Linked DNA regions of Homo sapiens: region 2 is linked to region 1. The links are contacts of gene promoters, found by promoter capture Hi-C in human tissues and cell types (Jung and others, 2019). All regions are on one chromosome and are shown on one strand. The core of a region is centred on a gene start or on the middle of the fragment in contact, and the rest is flanking DNA. Distances in the headings are between cores, read along the strand shown.

Evidence for each region. Contacts are between HindIII fragments. The study calls those that stand out against the background at their distance.
Region 2: a contact is called between the fragment with the promoter of SNCG here and the fragment with the promoter of OPN4 in region 1, in 1 of the 25 tissues and cell types used here (adrenal gland).

What each region holds. Positions count from the first base shown.
Region 1 is chr10:86,652,191-86,658,993 of GRCh38, forward strand. OPN4 (opsin 4) reads left to right here and starts at 2,357. Exons shown (of 10, transcript NM_033282.4): 1 at 2,357-2,737; 2 at 3,965-4,110; 3 at 5,842-5,975; 4 at 6,294-6,497. The coding sequence starts at 2,594. It overlaps LOC105378409 (a long non-coding RNA gene), which reads right to left. Exons shown (of 3, transcript XR_001747526.2): 3 at 5,964-6,104. RefSeq lists an enhancer at 1-174. The HindIII fragment of the contact is 7,074 bases long and covers 1-5,751 here.
Region 2 is chr10:86,955,679-86,962,481 of GRCh38, forward strand. SNCG (synuclein gamma) reads left to right here and starts at 2,921. Exons shown (of 5, transcript NM_003087.3): 1 at 2,921-3,140; 2 at 3,955-3,996; 3 at 4,323-4,450. The coding sequence starts at 3,020. It overlaps MMRN2 (multimerin 2), which reads right to left and starts at 1,937. Exons shown (of 7, transcript NM_024756.3): 1 at 1,700-1,937. The coding sequence starts at 1,863. RefSeq lists enhancers at 1-208, 3,211-3,810, 5,011-5,611, 6,212-6,803. The HindIII fragment of the contact is 6,431 bases long and covers 1-5,859 here.

The sequences.
Region 1 (6,803 bases), core at 1,107-3,606:
GGGATGCAAAGGTTTGGAGCAAGAGCGCCATGGGGAGCCTCCCCAGTGGGACAGAAGCACAGGAGTGAGGGGGTTGGGCCCTGAGGAGATCTCAGTGTCACCCGCAACGGCTGCAGTGCACGGCCCATGGAGAAAGGACATTGTCAGGTGAGACGTGGGCTTCCAAAGGCCCCAGGCTGGGGGTTCCGAGTCCTCTGATCTTTCCCTGAGGTGCTCCTTTGAGGCCTGTGGCACCCTGGGTATGTGGATTCCCGCCTCATGTGTCCACCTGACAAGCACTTCTCCCCTGGACTCCTGTGCCTGCTCCATCACCTGCACCCTCTCTTAATTAGCAGGTTGGAGAGTGGGGTCCACATTGAATGGGACGTTGTGTTGACTCAGAATTGCTCCCAGCTGTGAGGAATTGTTAAACCCCTACATTAAAACGCAAGCAGCTGGCATTGAGCCTAGGGACAGAAAGAAAAGCCGGCCCCTCAGCCTCACCCTGCCCCCAGGGTGGCCTCTGTGAGCCAAAGCCCTGAAGTGGAAGAGCCTCAGGAGGAAGGCAGTCTGAGCCATGGGCTGGCAGCTGCAGGAAGTACAGCTCCCGCTCCCAGTGAGGCTGCTCCCACTTCTCCTGCTCAAACCTGGGGCTCCAGGAGAACTGTTTGTAAAGACTGGGGGAACTTCTGGAAGAGGAGTGATATCTCTGTCCACTCCAGGGCTCCAACACTCCCAGCACTGTGCCAGGACATGGCCCCCACTTAGGATGACCGCTGCCCGGTCGGGCTCCCCTAAACGCAGCCTCTGTGGCAGGCCTAGCCCGAGCAGCCCTCCCTGGAAGCCGTGTGTTCAGCTTCCCTTCTCTCCAGCTCCTGCTGCCTCCTCTAAGACAGGGCAAGGGGCAGGCCCGGGGTCCCCTCCACTTCTGACATCCAGTCAACTTGGATCAGGCCTGCAGGCCTGGGTGAGTTCCTGGGACTCTCCCAATAAGGTTTTAAAAAATCTTTATACTTTAAAAATTTCTGCCGGGCCCAGTGGCTCACGCCTGTAATCCTGGCACTTTGGGAAGCCGAGGTGGGTGGATCACCTGAGGTCAGGAGTTCGAGACTAGCCTGGCCAACATGGTGAACTCCTGCCTCTGCTAAATATACAAAAATTAGCCAGGTGTGGTGGCGAGTGCCTGTAATCCCAGCTACTCGGGAGGCTGAGGCAGGAGAATTGCTTGGACCTGGGAGGCGGAAGTTGCAGTGAGCTGAGATTGCACCATTGCACTCCAGGCTGGGTGACAGAGCAAGACTGTCTCAAAAAAAATAAAAATAAAAAAATAAAACTTTCTTATCAAAAAACAAGCAAAAGCCGCCTCGTGATCTGATCTCACCCTACTGCTACATCCTCCTTGTGTCTCCATCTGTGAAAGGGTGACCAGCCTTGGTTCTATGCAGGGTGACTGTGAAAATGCCATGGCTCATGGGGGCCAAACATGGTGGTAGGGCCCACTGTGACAAGGGTGAGGCTGGGCTGCACAGGCTCAGCTGCCCACAAACAGCTCTGGGGGCTCTTGGGATGGCTGAGGCTGCTCTTGATGAGCTCAGGGAAGAAACACAACAGAGACTGGTCAAAGGAGAGGACACAGCCTTCTGCCCAATGTCCAAGAGCCCGAGCCCAGGAATCTCCCTTGAAACACACACTCTCACACACACTCTCACACACACACATGCTCTCACTCACTCACACTCACACACACTCACATGCACACACACTCACACATTGACACCACTGTCAGCTCAGAAATCTCCCTTGAAACACACACACTCACACACATACACATTCACACCACCATCATCCCAGAAATCTCCCTTGAAACACATACACACTCACACACACACACACTCACACACATTCCCAACACCATCCCAGAAATCTTCCTTGAAACACACACACTCACGAACCCTCACACACACACACACACACACGCACACATTCATGACACCATCCCAGAAATCTCCCTTGAAACACATACACACTCACATACACATTTACGCCATCATCCCAGAAGTCTCCTTTGAAACACACACTTTCACACACTCACACACACACACTCACACACACTCACATTCACACCACCATCATCCAGAAATCTCCCTTGAAACACACACACTCACACACACATTCATGCCACCATCATTCCAGAAGTCTCCCTTGAAACACACACACACACACACACACACTCACACATACACATTCACGCCACCATCATCAGACCTTCGTAGATAGACACCCAGAGACCTTGGTCTGAGTGAGCTGGCGGCATGGAGCGACTGAGCATGTGCAGCTCCCACATCGCTATATAAAGATGGGGATGAACTCTGTGGCTGTGAGTCACCATAACTGCGACACTCACTCATTTGCGCTTCACCAGACACAGAGCAACCGCCAGCCCCAAGAGCAGCTCCAGGCTGGATCTGCGCCGGACACAGGAGAAAGCAGCGGGTAGGCTAAGCAGGGGTGCTGAGGATGGAGGAAAGTTGGGAGGCTGAGCACAGCTGAAGTCCTGAGCTCCCTGTGCCCTTGACTTCTCTGTGGGCTCGAGCAAGGACCATCCCAACTCAGGATGAACCCTCCTTCGGGGCCAAGAGTCCCGCCCAGCCCAACCCAAGAGCCCAGCTGCATGGCCACCCCAGCACCACCCAGCTGGTGGGACAGCTCCCAGAGCAGCATCTCCAGCCTGGGCCGGCTTCCATCCATCAGTCCCACAGTAAGCCTGGGCGAGCATGTGCATGCACAGAGCCTTCCCTGACCCCTTCCTGGTCCCCTCCTGGCCACACACAGGGGCTTTGACAGGGAGATAGAAAAGGTCTGAACTCTGCTGTGGGGCCTTGAGCCATTACTGGACCTCTCTGAGCCCGCCCCTGATAAACAGGCTGATAGAGGAGGGTGCAGGCAATGTCCTTCCTCATGGAGAGCATTCAAGGAACAGAAATGCCAGCCCTGAGGACAAGGGGCTGGAATGGCCAGACCTGTCCTTGGCTGCACTCATTCCTTTCAGAGGTTGCTCGGATGCCCCATGGAGCCCTCCAGGGAGGAGGGCACACCCTGGGCCTCTGGATCTGCCAAGCCCACAGTGAAGCCTTGGGTGCCTTCTGCCACCTCCATCATCCTAGCCCAGGCCCAGGGCCATATTCCATCAACACCACTGCTACCTGGGGAAGGCCGAGGGCACCCTCAGGACCTGGGGATGCTGGCCCAGGTGCTGGACAGGATGGGAAGGCTCCGGTAGCTATAGGGGCCACTGCGGCAGGACAGAGACCAAGCCACCCTCTCTTCCCCAGAAAGGGGTTAGGGTGGGAGGAGTCTTTAAATCCCTTTGTCCTGACCTGATATGGTCATGACCTCCCTTCAGTGACCCTGGGAGGCCTAAGCTTTCTTTCTAAAGGGAATTCCCTTCATTTTCATGCCAGGCATCAAGGTTAGCTGTACCCAGCTATGCTATTGGGCAATGCAGCTTCTCCTCTAAGGCTCAGTAGGGGACGGGACTCTTGAGAGGGGCTCCACCCGACTCACCACCCCAGCGTCTAGAGGCCTCAAAAACTGTCTTGGGCCCTTGGGCTGGAGTCCATACTGCAGGCAGGGATGCACCCAGGAGTTGGCTCTGTCTTCTCCCTAAGGAAAGATAGGGTGACCAGGGCCATGTCCCTGCTTGCCAGTCACATGTCTGTCTGTCCTACCAGCCTCCAGCAGGTGATCTGAGCCCACTCCTAGAAGGCCCCTGTGCCATGTTCTAGGAGCTTGGGCTGGACTTTAGAAAGGACCTGCACTTCCCTTCTGCTTTTGGCCACTTGTGAGCTGTGTGTGCAACTGGCTTTGCCACTCTGAGCCTCAGTTTTCCCACCTGCCCTGTTGAGAATCCTAACTCTTCCTTCTCAGGACTATTTGAAGGTGACAAGCGATAACATGATTCCCTCGTTTCTCTGTCTCTCCGCAGGCACCTGGGACTTGGGCTGCTGCCTGGGTCCCCCTCCCCACGGTTGATGTTCCAGACCATGCCCACTATACCCTGGGCACAGTGATCTTGCTGGTGGGACTCACGGGGATGCTGGGCAACCTGACGGTCATCTATACCTTCTGCAGGTGCCTGGTTGGTGGTGCTGGGCCCAGGGCACTGAGGGTGGCAGCCATGCAGACAGGGAAGAAAATGCAGGCAGGAATGTTGACTCTAGCTCTGGCCAGGGCACTGTTGAGGCTAGGCAAGGAGGGCAGGGCCATGCCTTCGATGATCTCAGGCCCAGACCTTCCTGAAGGTCACGGAAAGGGCCAAAAATGGTCCAGGGAGACTTGACTGACTGGCACTAATTGAGACCCAGGTGCATCCTCTGTGGAGGGTGTGTGTGCCCAGAGTATGTGGGTCTCTGACCATTCTGCCCTGCTCTCAGCGCACCTCTCCGTCACCTGCCCCAGAGAGCATCCTCCCCCTGCGTTGAAGAGCAGCTCTAGGCCAGGCGTGGTGGCTCCCGCCTGTAATCCCAGCACTTTGGGAGGCCAAGGCGAGCAGATCACCTGAGATCAGGGTTCGAGACCAGCCTGGCCAATGTGGTGAAACCCCCGTCTCTACTAAAAATACAAAAATTAGCCAGGTGTGGTGGTGTGTGCCTATAATCCAAGCTGCTTGGGAGGCTGAGGCAGGAAAATCGCCTAAACCTGGGAGGCGGAGTTTGCAGTGAACCGAGATCATGCCACTGCACTCTAGCCTGGGCAACAGAACAAGACTCCATCTCAAAAAAAAAAAAAAAAAAAAAAGAGCAGCCCTGGGGACCAGCATCCTCAAGTCCCTCAAACACCCCTGACACCCACCCCCAGTGTCCCTCTCCATCTGCCCCCCTGCCTGGCTCAGTGGCTGAGACAGGCAGGTGGAGAAGGGAACCCAGGCTGCAGGGCCACACAGCCCCCTGGCTCTCCCACCTGCCAGCTGAAGGACTGGGCACGTCATTTCTCCTCCTTGAGCTCACTTTTCTTTCCGCAAAACAGAGCTGTGCTTCGTGGAGTCACTGTGATGATGCAGTAAGTTCACGGATGTGCGTTGCCCCACAGATGAGCCACTTACTGAGTGCTGTGCACCGGAGCAAGTCACTTCATGAGTGGGAGCATCTTGTCTGGAAAATGGGGACAATGACGCCTCCCTCAGGGTAGATGCAAAGATGGATGATGACAGGAGCCGAGGCTGGTGAAAGTGCCTGGCCCGGCCGTGGTGCACAGCCATCAGCTCCTCTGCCCTTGGCCATCCCCAAGCATGAGGATTACAGAGACAGTGTGCAGGGCAGGGTCCAGGCAGGACGTGACACTGGAGGGAGAGTGGGAGGGGGACCCGCGGAGGAGGGAAGCGTGAGAAGCCATGGGAAAGCACAGTCAGGGCACGCAGGAGGAGGAACCTAGGGAGAAACCTCTAGGGAGACCTTGGCCTAGAGGGACTCAAGGAAACCAGTGAATTGGTCAAGGAAATGGTGTGAGTCGTGCAGAGGAATTTAGAGGGCAAGAAGAGGAAACGGACATGACCCAAGAACCGGCCTGCGCTGGGCCACGCCTCAGGTTTTGGAGAGAAACTGCCCCCTGCTTCTCTCTGAGGGAGCCGTCTTGGGGTCCTCACTCAGCAGACACTGCTGGGTTCAACAGCTGCTTGGCTGGTCCCTGCCCGACAGTGGGATAGCTCTGTGGCCCGGCAGCTCGTGCCTGTTTGCTTGCCCATGTGTGTGTGCATGTGTAAGTGTGTGGCACGTGTGTGCACATGCATACCTGAGGGGTGCGGGAAGCTCTCCATAGCTCTGGAGGTGTCAGGAAGCGCCTCCTAACAGCTTCTGATCCTCCCAGGAGCAGAAGCCTCCGGACACCTGCCAACATGTTCATTATCAACCTCGCGGTCAGCGACTTCCTCATGTCCTTCACCCAGGCCCCTGTCTTCTTCACCAGTAGCCTCTATAAGCAGTGGCTCTTTGGGGAGACAGGTAGATGCTGGGGCTCCCTTTTGCTGGAGGGAGGAGGAGGGTTTTGACCTGGGGATGCCCTCAATGGAGGGTGGCCCAAAGGAGGTGATTTGCTGCTTCTGGGCAGAGAGTGGGTAGCTGCCCTCAGTCCTGTGAGTAAGCAAGAAGGGAAGATGCAGTGTTGGTCCTAAGGCCTCTGCCAGCCTTGGCCAGATGTGGCAGGTGGAGGGGGTGGAGTGCGCTCAGTCCTGCTCTTCCTGTGAGGTGAAGGCCAGAGCAGAGTCTACCCTGTCCCCAGACCCTCCTCCCCAGGACTCAGAGCAGGGGCTGTGCCCACAGGCTGCGAGTTCTATGCCTTCTGTGGAGCTCTCTTTGGCATTTCCTCCATGATCACCCTGACGGCCATCGCCCTGGACCGCTACCTGGTAATCACACGCCCGCTGGCCACCTTTGGTGTGGCGTCCAAGAGGCGTGCGGCATTTGTCCTGCTGGGCGTTTGGCTCTATGCCCTGGCCTGGAGTCTGCCACCCTTCTTCGGCTGGAGTAAGTGGGCTGCTGGAACTGGAAGGGGGGCAGATGGGCTGGGAGGGGCACATTCAAGGGGAAGTAGGTGGACTTGGGTCAGCCAGCTGGCGGGAGCAGGGTGCCCAGGAGCTACCTGAGCCTCAGGTGAGATGGACATTCAGGGGACATGACTGGCAGCAAGGGAAACTGACACTGCCCCATCAGGGGCCAAAGGATCTCCTGGGCAACTGATCCCAAAATACAAAGGCTTTCTGGGCGGGGCAAAGTGACAGGTACTTCTGATGCTGTGTCAGACTAGGCAGGGGGCTGGGGTGTGAGGACTCT
Region 2 (6,803 bases), core at 1,671-4,170, 300 kb after region 1:
GCAAGGGAAGTAATCAGCCCAGGAAGCCGCGCGTTTCCTTCCTTTCTCACCAGCCCATCCGGGTTTGGTGAGAGAGCATGGACTTGCCCTGTGGAGACTGCAGCTTCTGGATGTGGGAAGGAGAGCCCTGCAGGCAGGGGGCTTCCAGGCTTGGGACACCTGGGCATTCCTGGGCCAGGTACATGCACCCTCCCACTCAGAACCCCAGAGAAGGACTGCGGGGCCCCTGCAGGGCTGCCCATCAGCAGTTCCCAAACCCTCACTCCTTGGGGCTAAGGGAGCAATGTCTCTCCCACAACCAAGGGGGTGGGGAGGAAGAGGAGCAGCTCCCTCCTCCCTCCCGTCCACCGGGTCCTCTCATCCTCCCTTTCATCAAAAGGCGGAAGGTGGCCTGAGACTAAGGCGTGGAGCTTCCTTGGTCCTGAAATCAGAGCGGAGTGGCTGGATCCAGCCCGCCCCTCCCCCGCCCCCTGCTCCCCTTGCCGCCCCACCACCGAGAATCACCTGCACCTCCCAGCCCTGAGCAGAGTTGGGGGCAGGCGGGAATGAGGTTTCTCCATGGCCAACTGCTCAGCCACTGTTCCCCACGCCACTGCCACCAGACCCTCACTAAGGGGCCTCTTGCCCCTCCCTGGTCAAATCTGTTTTCAGGAAAGCACCCAACAAACCTGCAACTCAGAAGCCAAATGAGACCTATCCCAGGCAGGTCCGCTCTGCGATGGTGGCTCTCATACACCGCACAGAAGTGTAAGTTGGCCCCCCCCTCACTCCCTAAATCCATGTAGATGCCCTTAGCCAAACAGGTCTGGTGTGTGGGGGCAGGAGGGTGGAGGTAGGAGCATCTGGGGGCTGGGGCTGGCTCCAAGTGCTGCAGAGAGTTCACTATGAGCTCTGAAGTCAAACTCAGATCCTGCTCCTTAGCTGTGTGGCCTTGGGCAAGCCCCTCAGCCTCTCTGAGCCTCAGGCTCCTCCTCTGTAAGTGGGGCTGTTGGAGGGATGAACTGAGATACACGTGGCAAGGTGCCTGGCCCTGAGACTGGGGGCCCCGTAAACAGCACCTGCTGCTCTGACTGAGGGGCAGTTGGAGATGAGGGGGGACTTACAGGCCCAACACCTCATCAGCAGGATGGGCCCTGGCTCTGTACACATAGAATGTTGGAAAGCTATGTTCTGGGTCCAGTTGCAAGACCATCCTGCCCACTTGCTGGGTCGCTGAGGCAGAGCGCCCTGGACTGTGCTCTGGAGAGCAGGGGGCCGTCTCTGCTCACTGCTGGGCAGTCAGAGTCAGGTCCCCAGGGAACTCAGATCAAAATCTCAGGGCAGCCTTGCTGGGTCTCAGCTTTCAGAATTGATTTCTTTGGAAGAACAGGAGGCATAGCCAGGCCAGCTGGCAATGGCTTCAGCCACAGTCCCCCAGTGCCCCATGCTGGGTGATTGATGGTAGGAGCTGTGCCTCCCTGCCAGCCCCCCAAGCCCCATTCCCTGCCATGGCTCCGACAGGGAACTCCCTGCAATTCTTAGGTGGATCCTGAAACACCCAGTCCAGACTACTTTTTCAGCCTCACAGATGGCCCAGAGATAGATACTATTAGCCCATTTCACAGATGGGACCCCAGTGAGGTCTAGAGAGGCTCTGCTCTAGCTGAGCTGGGACTCAGATCCTACTCCATGACCTCTGCCAAGGTCCAGGCCCTCTTACCGTCCTACGGGGTCCTTGCCGGTGTCCTCAGCCTCTGCCTTCCAGACCCCAGGTGTCCTGGAGCTCTGCAGATCAGAGAGGCTAGTACTGGAAGCCTGGGCCCATGCCCCCAGCAGCCCCCAGCCCAGGGGGCCCCCAAGGCTGAACAGCAAGCTCAGGATCATCTTGGTGGTGGGGCAGGCTCAGCTCACACTCAGCCTTGGCAAGTAGCTCCAGAAACTGCTAGTGACGTTGTCTTCAAGTTAAATCTCAGGAGGAAAAGAAAATACGAGGACAACAAAGAGAGGAAGTGGCCTGGGCCGGCCTACCCGGTGGGTCTTGTCCTGCCCCCCAACTACCCTGGCTGGCCCCACAGGGGCCGCCAACCACACAAGCCAGTTCCTGTCCCTGAGGACTTGGCTCAGGGACTCTGGGAATGTGGTAGACATGGGGTGGCCCCACCAAATGCATCCTTATGGGAACCTGCTCCCTGGGAGCCATGAAAAGAGCGTGGACTTCGAGGTGGGGCCACAGGAAGTGGTCAGGTCCATCTCAGGGGACCTGCTGCCCATCCACACTGCTGGCCAGGAAATGGGGGGCAATTCATGCCTCCTCAGCACCTTCAGCACTGGGCGGCTCAAAGAAGGGAAGGGACTATTCTGGGGTCACACAGCATGCAGCCAGAGGCCAAGGCATGAGGAAGTCCTTCATTTCCCCACCCCCACCCACCTCAGATCCTCCAACCGGTTTCATGGCAGCCCAGGGTCCAGCGGCATCCAGGATGCTGGTGGGTAGCTGCACAGCCCAGGCCGCGGGAGGTTGGCTGCTCTCACCTAACAGGCCTATGTGGCCCTGACCCCTACCTAGGAAGCTGGGGACAATGGCCAAGGCGCCTCCCCTCTCTGTGCCTGTCTGTCCAGGTGCAGCATAGACACAGCACCCCTGGGGCCAAGAGCACCCAGCCAGGGCTGCCCCCATGGGTGGGCAGGGCAGTAAATGAATGAGGGACAGGTTGGGAGGTGGCCAGCCCCCTCCAGCCCATGGAGGGCACGGGGCAGGAGAGCTGGGCTGAGCCAGCAGGAGCCCAGGGAGCCTGGTCTCTGCCTTCCTATCCTGGAGGAAGGTGAGGCTGAACCTCCTTCCCTCCCTCCCTCCCTCCCCGCCCCCACTGCACGCAGGGCTGGCTGGGCTCCAGCTGGCCTCCGCATCAATATTTCATCGGCGTCAATAGGAGGCATCGGGGACAGCCGCTGCGGCAGCACTCGAGCCAGCTCAAGCCCGCAGCTCGCAGGGAGATCCAGCTCCGTCCTGCCTGCAGCAGCACAACCCTGCACACCCACCATGGATGTCTTCAAGAAGGGCTTCTCCATCGCCAAGGAGGGCGTGGTGGGTGCGGTGGAAAAGACCAAGCAGGGGGTGACGGAAGCAGCTGAGAAGACCAAGGAGGGGGTCATGTATGTGGGTAAGTGGGGCATGGCAGGGTGGGACAGTGTGGTGGCCAAAGGGTGAGTGCCCAGTTACCTTCGCCAGACCTTACTCCCCAGCCCCAGGGAGGCATTTTGGGAGGGGGCGAGGCCCTGGCTATCAAGGTGGGGTCTCCAGACCCTGGAGCACCCACAATGCCCTGTGCACACCTATGTGTGTTTGTCTTTGGCCTCCTCGGGGCCTCTGGGTGTCAGAGACCGCAGACAGGGCTGGCTACCTGTCTGTGCACGCACACACACATTCCCAAGCATACCAGCCTCCCCTGAGCCTGGAGCCCCTGAAGCCATGAGCAGCCTGTGCTCAGGTGGCCCCCACCCTCTCCACACGGGAGCGGCTACAGCCAGGTCACGGATCCCCTCCCTCCCCAGAGAGAAGGGGCAGGCTGGGGGATGAAACCTAGGCTCAGTGTTCCCTCCCCCGCATCCTCTCCTGGCACTCTCCAGAGGAGGAAGGGGAGGTCAAGCCAATGACTCAGCTCTGGCCCATCCTGTCCTGTTGCTGCTTCTGAGGCCCGGCCACACCCGGGCAGGGGCTGGACCCTGGGTCTAGCCAGTGTCCCTACCTCAGGCCTGCTCTCTCTTGTCCCCCACATTCTGTCCTGTCCCCTTCCCATCCATCCACTTCTTCCAGACACAGCAGGAAGAGGCCCTCTGAAGGGGCCGCCGGCCCCCAGACACCATCCTTACCCCCCCACCGACCCCACAGTTTGTCCAGCTGTTCTGTTGTGTTTGTCCTGACCGCCCCCAACACCTCGAGGGAGGTCTGGGCTGACAGCTCCATTTCCTCCCCAGGAGCCAAGACCAAGGAGAATGTTGTACAGAGCGTGACCTCAGGTGAGAAGCCCCAGGGCCAGGGGACACATGGGGGATAGGACCCCTGGGGCTCCTGCATCCTAGTGCTGGGGCTCAAACCTAGAGTCCTGCCTTACCCCCAACTGGGGTCCCAAGCCCTACAGACCCCTGCAGACCATGAGGCTAAACTAGGGTGGGCGTCTCCTTACCCCCACCAGCATCAGAGGTGCCCTGGAGTCAGAGGGAGCAGGGGAGGGTCCCAGCAGGGCCAGGGCTCTGAGCTCCTGGGAAGGGGCTGCGAGCCTGACTCCAGCAGGCCTGCCTTGGGGCTGGGGCTGGGGTGGAGGCCAGCCAGTGTCCTCCCATAGTGGCCGAGAAGACCAAGGAGCAGGCCAACGCCGTGAGCGAGGCTGTGGTGAGCAGCGTCAACACTGTGGCCACCAAGACCGTGGAGGAGGCGGAGAACATCGCGGTCACCTCCGGGGTGGTGCGCAAGGTGAGCCCCGGCCCTCAGACCTGCCCAGTCCTCTCCTGGGCCCAGAAAGGCTGCTGGGCGGAGGCGGCATCACTCCACTCCACACCCCAGGAAACAACACGGGGGGCTGCGGCTGGCTTCAGTTTCAGTACCCACTGAGCGCCGGCATGGGGTGGGGTCCATGCTTGCTGTTCGACCTGCATTCGGGTCTGGAATCACCACAACCACCCCTTCGGGGGACTTGGGAGCCCATCTCATAGACAAGGAAAGTGAGGCTCAAAACCACATCTTCCGGACGGCTCTCAGCACTTAGGAGACACCCCATTTTATAAGTGAAAACAGGATCCCACACGGTGACAGGCAGCCTCCCGGGCAGTGGTCACCAGGCCGGGGGCTGAGTAGCACCAGCCCCGCCCCCAGGGCCTAGCCTCCCTCCCTGGGCTGGGCGGGGCAGCTGCCTCCTGCTGGGAGCCTCAGGGAAGTAGCGTCCCCTAGTGGTAAGAAAGCAGTGCTGCTTCTGACCCTACCCTCTGCAGCTGCCTTTGTGTGTGTGTGCACGTGTGTTGAGTGAGCATGTGGGTGCATTTGTGAGAATGTGTGGGTGTACATGCGTGTGAATGTACACATGCGTGTGCGGCCCAATAGCAGACAGCACAGGAGCAGTGGGGCGCACCCCAGGGACGGGTGTTGGCTGGGTGAGCTGTCCCAGCACCTGTGACACAGCAAGCTCTGCTTTACGCATTGTACGCTTATTAGTTCATTTAATAGACACAAAATCCATGAGACGGTGTGGAAACTAAGGCCCAGAGAGATTAATGTGCCCAAGGTCCCATGGCTAGTTCATGTGAGCTTGGAATTCCCCTGAGCAGCCTGTACTCTGAGAGACCCTGTGGCAGTGTAAGTGGTGGCCTGGGCTAGGATTCCTACCTGGGGGTGGGGCGGGGGAGCAGTGTCCAGCTCTCCTACCTGCTCCAGGCCTCCTAGGTGGTGGAGTCTGAGGCTCTGAGCACTGAGAATCCCTGCGTTAGGAGTGGGTGGGTGGAAGGGTGGGGGCTGCCCTACTCCTCTTGGCTCTGGGGCGATGCCCAGGTGTCTGCTTCCAGGGCCAGCACAGGGTCTCCATGTCCTTGGAGCTGGCAGCCGCTCCCTCTCCTAGTTCCCCTTTCTCGTCGTATGACCTTGAGAAGCAAAGGAACCTCTCTGGGCCTCCGTGTTCTCATCTGCAAGATGGGGGTGAGAGTGTCGGCCTCCCTGGGCTGTGTGATGAGGCAGGGCCATGACCTCCATGAAGCAATTCTCCTGGTCTATGTGAGCACCCAGCAGAGGAAGGTGACCATCATCATCATCATCATCATGTGTCCCAGGCAGAACACATAGAGCCCCAGGGGGCTCCTCCCTCCTCACCCCCAGCAAAAGAGGCCCTGGGGTGAGGGTGCCCGGGCATTCCTTGTGAATCCCGGAGCAGGGCTAGTGAGCCCTTGGAGCCACCTCGAGGGAGACTCATTTCCTGGTGACACCCCAAAACCAGTCACGACTCATCTCCCAGTGAACTGTGAAAGGCCTCAGCAGGGACTATCTGACCACTCATACCCCTGGCCTCATCATCAGCCTTAGGGCAGCAGGACTCAGCAGGTGGCCACCTGCCCTGCCCCTGGATAGCCTGGCCGACTCCCGCCAGCACAGCACTGCCCTTTTATGCCCCACTCCGCCAAGGGGCAGGATGGCCCTGGGGCAACACAGAGGTGACAGTATCCCCGCCTCCCCCCCGTCCCCCGCCAGAGGCAGGTGCTGAGGCCAGAGTGCAGGGCAATCACCAGTGTGGTCCTACACACCCAGCTGTCATGATATCTCACGCAAGTGTCTGGCCGGCATGGAGTGCAGGAGATAGAAGATGGGAAGTGAGAGAGGACTGTGTAACCTCTGCTGGCCCTGACCAGCCTGAGCCCAGAGCCTGTCCAGGAGGCAAAGAGAGGGAGCCATGCTCCTGTGGACTGAAGTGGGCCTGAAGCAAGCCTGATCTGATGCCAACACACCCCACCACTTTGAGCTCGAAGGCCCTGAGCTGCATGCCAAGCCTCCCTGGCCTCAGAGTCCCTATGTGAACCCCAATCAGTCTTCCTTGTAGGGCTACTGAGGGTGGGGTCAGACCTGGGGCTTCAGGGGCCTCTGCCCACTCTAACCCCCACTCCACCCTACCCCACCCAGGTTCCTCATCAGTGAAGCCCAACTAGGGGCTTCCCAGAGACTGGGGACCAGCTTGAGGGGTGAAGCTGGGCTCCAGGGTACTTGGTGCCCCTGGAAGGCCTCGGCATCATCAGAGCCCCGGGTATTGTCTGAATTGCACGCCCCCAATACCTCCAGCCCCTCCAAGTAC